2 separate regions of the Homo sapiens genome follow, and region 2 is linked to region 1. Evidence: promoter capture Hi-C in 16 types of primary human blood cells and fetal thymus (Javierre and others, 2016). All regions are on one chromosome and are shown on one strand. Each heading gives the region's core, a stretch centred on a gene start or on the middle of the fragment in contact. The rest is flanking DNA. Distances are from core to core; before and after follow the strand shown.

The links. Contacts are between HindIII fragments. The CHiCAGO score rates a contact against its expected background, and 5 or more counts as called.
Region 2: a contact is called between a fragment that was not itself captured here and the fragment with the promoter of PPP4C in region 1, in 1 of 17 cell types (fetal thymus). The highest score is 6.1, in fetal thymus.

What each region holds. Positions count from the first base shown.
Region 1 is chr16:30,074,121-30,077,862 of GRCh38, forward strand. PPP4C (protein phosphatase 4 catalytic subunit) reads left to right here and starts at 1,874. Exons shown (of 9, transcript NM_002720.3): 1 at 1,874-1,974; 2 at 2,195-2,355. The coding sequence starts at 2,258. RefSeq lists enhancers at 596-775, 2,398-2,487 and a silencer at 2,148-2,287. The HindIII fragment of the contact is 10,067 bases long and covers 1-2,455 here.
Region 2 is chr16:30,595,087-30,598,828 of GRCh38, forward strand. No RefSeq gene overlaps it. Among named protein-coding and RNA genes, the nearest start is that of ZNF785, 11 kb to the left of the region's middle. The HindIII fragment of the contact is 4,017 bases long and covers 131-3,742 here.

The DNA of each region.
Region 1 (3,742 bases), core at 624-3,123:
TCACCTGAGGTCAGGAGTTCGAGACCAGCCTGACCAAAATGGTGAAACCCCGTCTCTATTAAAAATGCAAAAATTAGCTGGGCGTGGTGACGGGTGCTTGTAATCCCAGCTACTCAGGTGGCTGAGGCAGGAGAATTGCTTGAACCCAGGAGGCGGAGGTTGCGGTTTGCCAAAATCGCTCCACTGCACTCCCGCCTGGGCGACAAGAGCAAGGAAGGCTCTGTCTTAAAAAAATAAATAAATGAAAATACAAAAATTAGCCAGGCGTCGTGGCACATGCCTGTAATCCCAGCTACTTGGGAGGCTGAGGCAGGAGAATCGCTTGAACCTGGGAGGCGGAGGTTGCAGTGAGCCGAGATTGTGCCACTGCACTCCAGTCGGGGTGAAAAAGCAAGACTCCGTCTCAAAAAAAAAAAAAAAAAAAAAAAAAGAGGCCGGGCACGGTGGTACACGCCTGTGGTACAGCACTTTGGGAGGCTGAGGCAGGTGGATCATGAGGTCAGGAGATCGAGACCATCCTGGCTAACACGGTGAAACCCCGTCTCCACTAAAAAATACAAAAAAATTAGCCGGGCCTGGTGGCGGGCGCCTGTAGTCCCAGCTATTCAGGAGGCAGAGGCAAGAGAATGGCGTGAACCCGGGAGGCGGAGCTTGCAGTGAGCCGAGATGGCGCCACTGGACTGCAGCCTGGGCGACAGAGCGAGAGAGTGAGACTCTGTCTCAAAAAGAAAAACGGAAGCAACTAAGAAATGTCAAGAGTGCCATTTTGGAATCAGAGAAGTCATGCTGACTGAGGCACAGGCTTGGCGTGGGAAAAGTGGACTCCAATCTGTTAACTTCTGAAGTTGTCCACGGCAAATATTTCTCTGACGGCACAGGAAGAGATCTGAACTTGGCTTCCCTCATCCATTGAACAAGTATTAACAAGTATCTATATATGCCTACCGTGCCAGGCCTTATTCTAACCACTGGGGCTGCAATATTTAAAAAGACAAAGTTGGATCCTCCAAGGACTGTGGTGGGGAAGGCTGACAAAACAAGTAACAAAAATGTGTAACATTAAAAAAAAAGTGTAATGTTAAAAAAAAAAAGTGTAATAAAGTTACAAAGCCTAGCCCCAGCTCGGCTTGTTTCCCTAGCTGAAATGGGGGATGGCCGGGCGCGGTGGCTCACGCCTGTAATCCCAGCACTTTGGGAGGCCCGAGGCGGGAAGATAGCTTGTGCCCAGGAGTTCGAGGTCACAGTGACCTATGATAGCCCCACCGACTCCAGCCTGAGCGATAGAGCGAGACCCTGTCTCTAATTTAGAAAAAAGAAAGTTGTGGCCGGGCGCGGTGGCTCACGCCTGTAATCCCAGCACTTTGGGAGGCCGAAGGGTGGTGGTGGGTGGGGGCGCGGATCACCTGAGGTAGGGAGTTAGAGACCAGCCTGACCAACATGGAGAAACCCCGTCTCTATTAAAAATACAAAATTAGCCCAGCGTGGTAGCGCATGCCTGTAATCCCAGCTACTCAGGAGGCTGAGGCAGGAGAATTGCTGGAACCCGGGAGGCGGAAGTTGCGGTGAGCCGAGTTCGTGCCATTGCACCCCGGCCTGGGCAACAGCAAAACTCCGTCTCAAAAAAAGAAAAGACAGTTGTTTAAACATTTTTATGAAATGATATGGGAGGGGACTGGTCTAGGGTTTCTAATAGCCTCCACATCGCCCAGCGGCAGAGCCCACAAAACTGCCACTGGCCGCCACCGGGTTCCTCCACCTCCTTCCCGATCTCAGGCTGGAGAAGTGGTGCAGGGGTCGCTGCGAAAGGAGAGGAGCGTGTATGACGCCACATCCGGCGCGCGGCGGAACTGGCCTCCTTTGCTTCCGCGGCGGGGCCGGAAGTAGGAGCGGCGGCGGCGGCGGCGGCGGCGGTCGAAAGCGGAGTGAAAGAGGGAGGCAGGGAGCCGGAGAGCCGGAACCGGAGTCGCAGCGGCGGTAATAGTGCGAGACTCCTCTAAGTCACCGTCCTTAGCGCGGGACCGCGGGGTTCGACGGGAGTTAGCGGGGGTGCGGCCAGGCCGTTGGACGCCGGGGGGTCCTGGGGCCGATGTGAGGGGAGGCGGGGGTGGGGGAGCCGGGCCGGCTCTAGAATCGAGTTGTCCGCTCCGAGCCCCGGACGGACACTGATCCGCGGGCTCGTCTTGGCCTTTCCCAGGAGACCCCTGTGCGGTGCGGAGGGGGCGGCGGCCCCGACTCTGACCCGCGCCGGGGGTGGGCCATGGCGGAGATCAGCGACCTGGACCGGCAGATCGAGCAGCTGCGTCGCTGCGAGCTCATCAAGGAGAGCGAAGTCAAGGCCCTGTGCGCTAAGGCCAGGTGAGCTCGTTGGCCCTGGGGAAGGGAGGCCAAGCCGCCGCCCACGGGTTCTGGCCTGGGGCAAACCCAACTGAGAACTTTGGGCTTGCCTCGTTCTGGAAGCTTTCCCAGAGAGGAGCAGGATGGAGCCGCTGCCCTCGAGGAAAAGCTAGCCTGCTCGGGGAAGACAGAGTGGATAAAGACACTTAAAGTTTATTAGACGATGTGTTTCCAGTGGAGTAAGAGTGTTACATAAAGTACTTAGGAAACTCAAGGAAACAAGTCCATCTGTCGGGGGACGGAAGCTTGTTGGAGGGGGGCCGAACTGTGGGAGAGGCCTCGAATAAGGAGGTGGTAAAAGAGTCAGCCAAAAACCAAAAGTTTAAGACAGGAAAGTTAAAGACCCTGTGATTTATAAAAGTCTTCTAATTACAACAACCCTTAAAGATTGGTGGTATTGTACTCATTTTACAGGTGGGAACTTTCATGTTCAAAGTTACCCACAAGTAAGGAATGGGGTCTGAAGCCAGCTCTTAGTGTCCTGTCCTTTTTCAGGCCATAATGCAAAAAGGTGGAGTTGGATCATTCACGTTCAGGGTGGGAGCCTGAGAAATCGTAGCAAGTAAGCCAGGGTAGAATTAAGCACGATAGGGAGGCCAGTTCAGAGTTCTGTGGGAAGTAGGATGATGTAGTGGTTAAGGCTCTAGGTTTTGCAGTGTGAGATGGCTCTAGGTTTGAATCTGAACTCTGCCGCTTTCTAGCTGTGTTAGTAATCTTAAGTGTCTTTATTTGTAAAGCAGAATTAATAGTACTTAATAAGATGATTGTGAAGATTCAGTGAGTTGGTGCTGGAGATGAGGTTAGCACAGTGTTTTGGTACAGCATACGTGCTTGATAATCACCAGGTATTCTATTTCTTTTGGAAGAGGGCAATAATGAGATGGGCTAAAGCCATCAGGGAGGGCTTTTGAGTGGAGGTAGGCCTTGAAGGATGAAGATAATTTGGCTAGCTGATGGAGGCAGGGCCAGTGAGGGAAGGGCATTCCAAGCAGGACGAATGTAACAGTGGAGGCCCTGAGATGCGTGGGGAACAGTCAGGGGTTTAATTACCTGCCTCCTCTGGGGAACTGTGTGATTGTGGCTTCTACCAGGCTGGAGAATTGTGGCAGAAGAGCCCACAGAATTACCCTACGTTTATTGAACAGTAAACATTGGCCTTTACAGGGCCACTATTTGGCCTGGCCCGGTACTGGCAAAAAACTTCTATCCATCTCTTCCCCCCAGCAATCCTATGAGGTTGGAATCATTTGCTGCATTTTATCGAATAGGAAGCCATGACTCGTAGAGGTCTGGTGACTTAACTGAGGTCACCCACTGAGGACGTGGCAGAGCTGGGTCCTGAATCTGT
Region 2 (3,742 bases), core at 889-3,388, 520 kb after region 1:
CAGATAACATTGTTGAGGAGCATTTCTGAGTTTGTCAACTACTCTATTGATGTGGGAGCACTCTCCCAGCTCTGAACTCAAGAAAGTCTAAAAAGAAGTAGGACTCAGAGACATTATGCTGAATAAAAGAAGCTTTAGACAAAAAAAAAAAAAAAAAAAAATACACACTGTATGATTCCAATTATATGAAGTTTTATAACAGGGAACACTAATTAGAATAGTAGTTGTCTCTGGTGGGGTGGGAATGGGAATTGACTAGGAAGGGGCATAAGGCAACTTTCTTTCTTTTCTTTTCTTTTTTTTTTTTTGAGACAGAATCTCACTCTGTCGCCAGGCTGGAGTACAGCGGCAGAATCTCAGCTCACTGCAATCTTTGACTCCCTGGTTCAAGCGCTTCTCCTGCCTGAGCCTCCCTAGTAGCTGGGATTATGGGCACATGCCACCATGCCCAGCTAATTTTTGTATTTTTAGTAGAGACGGGGTTTCACCATATTGGCCAGGATGGTCTCGAACTCCTGACCTCGTGATCTGCCTGCCTCAGCCTCCCAAACTACTGGGATTACAGGCATGAGCCACTGTACCCAGCCACATGAGGCAACTTTCTAGGATGATGGTAATGTTATGTATTTGGATAGGGGTTTCAGTTACAGATGTATACGTCTTTGTCAACACTCAGCAAATATACACTTAAAGTTTGTGCATTTTATGTACTTTTAACTCAAAAAATATATAAAACAAACGTGGAGCTCTAGTTAATGATATGCATGTTGAAATGTTTACGGGTGAAGTGTACTGATTTCAGCAATTTTTTTTACATGCACCCAAAAACAAAGTGTACTGGTAGAGTAACTGATAGTTACATGATAAAGCAGATACACTAAATGTTAGTGATAGAATCTAGGTGGTGAGTATATGGGTATTCTCTGTAAAAGTCCTTCAACTTTACTGTGTCTTTCAAAACTTTTAAAATGAATGGTGGCTGGGTGCAGTGGCTCACACCTGTACTCCTAGCACTTTGGGAGTCTGAGGCAGGTGGATCGCCTAAGGTCAGGAGTTTGAGACCAGCCTGGCCAACATTGTGAAACTCCATCTCTACTAAAAATACAAAAATTAGCTGGGCATGGTAGCTCATGCCTGTAATCCCAGCTACTCTGGGAGGCTGAGGCCCGAGAATCGCTTGAACCTGGGAAGTGAAGGTTGTAGTGAGCCAAGATCGCACCATTGCACTCCAGCCTGGGCAATGGAGTGAGACTTCATCTCAAAAGAAAAAAAAAAGCAAAACCACTATTGAGAATGAAAAGACACTCCACAGAATGGGAGAAAATATTTGTAAATCATGTGTCTAATAAGGGATTAATATTCAGAATTTATAAATAACTCCGGTAACTCAACAACCACTAAAAAATAAAAACCCAATTTAAAAGCAGGCAAAGAGGCTGGGCACGGTGGCTCACACTGTCATCCCAGCACTTTGGGAGGCCAAGACAGGCAGATCACTTGAGGCCAGAAATTCGAGACCAGCCTAGCCAACAGAGATGATGAAACTCCATTTCTGCTAAAAATACAAAAATTAGCCGGCATTGTGGCACAGACCTGTAATCCCAGCTACTCAGGAGGCTAAGGCATGAAAATCACTTGAGCCTGGGAGGTGGAGGGTGCAGTGAGCCAAAATGGCACCACAGCATTCCAACCTGGGCAACAGAGCAAGACACCACTCAAAAAAAGAATTAAAAAAAAAAAAGATGAAAGCAGGCATAGGATTTATATAGACATTTCTCCAAAGAAGATATACAGATGAGCTGGGCGTGGTGACTCACGCCTGTAATCCCAGCACTTTGGGAGGCTGAGGCAGGTGAATCACCTGAGATCAGGAGTTCAAGACCAGCCTGGCCAACATGGTGAAACCCCATCTCTACTAAAAATACAAAAAAAAAAAAAAATTAGCCGGGCGTGGTGGCGCACGCCTGTAATCCTAGCTACTTGGGAGGCTGAGGCAGGAGAATTGCTTGAACCTAGGAGACAGAGGTTGCAGTGAGCCGAGATCTTGCCGTTGCACTCCAGCCTGGGCAACAGAGTAAGACTCTATCTCAAAAATAATAAATGAATAAACACACAAACAAACAAATAATAAATAATTATCACTTTTTTGCATTTTCCCAATTTCTTTACTGATTATTTTTGGGATTTGGAAAAAACATAAGGCCGGGCGAGGTGGCCCACACCTGTAATCCCAGCACTCTAGGAAGCCAAGGCAGGAGGATTGCTTGAGCCCAGGAGTTCGAGACCAGCCTGGGCAACATGGAGAAACCTCATCCCTACAAAGAATACAAAAAAATTAGTTGGGTGTGGTGGCACATGCCTGTGGTCCCAACTACTCAGGAGGCTGAAGCAGGAGGATCACTTGAGCTCAGGGAAGTAGAAGCTGCAGTGAGCCATGATCACACAACTGCACTCCAGCCTGGGCCACAGAGCAAGACTCTTTCTTGCTGGGAAGGAATTCTCACATGTACGCACTAGCAGAAGCCACAAGCGGCACCAGGAAGACTAGAAGAATGCGGGGCATGAAAGCTAAGTTACAAGAGAGCTTAAGTAGGAAAACTAAGGTATGTAAGATAAAAATTGAAGCACTGATTTGTTAACTAGGTCATCAGTTATCTTAAAGGACAGTCTTAGAATAATTGCATGGCAGCTGACTTTACAGTCACCCAGATATGTGATCCTGGACAAGTTATTTATTTTTTTTTAAATTTTTTGAGATGGAGTTTTGCTCTTGTTGCCCAGGCTGGAGTGCAATGGCGCAATCTCGGCTCATTGCAACCTTTGCCTCCCGGGTTCAAGTGATTCTCCTGCCTCAGCCTCCCAAGTAGTTGAGATTACAGGCATGTGCCACCATGCCTGGCTATGTTTTTGCATTTAGTAGAGACGGGATTTCACCATGTTGGTCAGACCGGTCTCGAACTCCTGACCTCAGGTGATCCACCCGCCTCGGCCTCCCAAAGTGCTGGGATTATAGGCGTGCACCCTGTGCCCGGTCGACAAGCTATTTAATGTCACTGTGCCTCTGTTTCCTCATCTGGTCAAGGAAAACAATACCTACAGTCAGATCTGGAATTTGAGGCTGCCCTACTTATAGGTTAATAAATGGGTCTGTTATTGTTTCATGGATGCTGTCAGAAAACAGAGACAAAAGACCTTACTGTTCAGGGCACAACAAGCAGCATGAGCATGCCTGCATTGGTTCCCTTCTGCCCCCTGCAGGGGCAATGTGGGATGTGCCCAGATGGATGCTAGACACACAGTGAGTTGCATCATAGGGGAGGAACAGGAAGCTCCTGCTGTTTTTTTCCTTTTTAAAGATGGGATTTGGCTGGGAGCGGTGGCTCACGCCTGTAATCCCAGCACTTTGGGAGGCCAAGGCAGGCAGATCACCTGAGGTCAGGAGTTCGAGACCAGCCTGACCAACATGGTGAAACCCTGTCTCTACAAAAATACTAAAATTAGCTGGGCATGGTGGCAGGTGAGTGTAATCCCAGCTACTTGGGAGGCTGAGGCAGGAAAGTTGCTTGAACCCAGGAGGTGGAGGTTGCAGTGAGCCAAGATCACGCCACTGCACTCCAGCCTGGGTGACAAGAGTGAGACTCCTTCTCTAAATAAATACATAAATAAATAAGATGGGGTCTTGCTATGTTGGCCAGGGTAGTCTCAAACTCCTGGCCTCAAGCAATCCTCCTGCCTTGGCCAC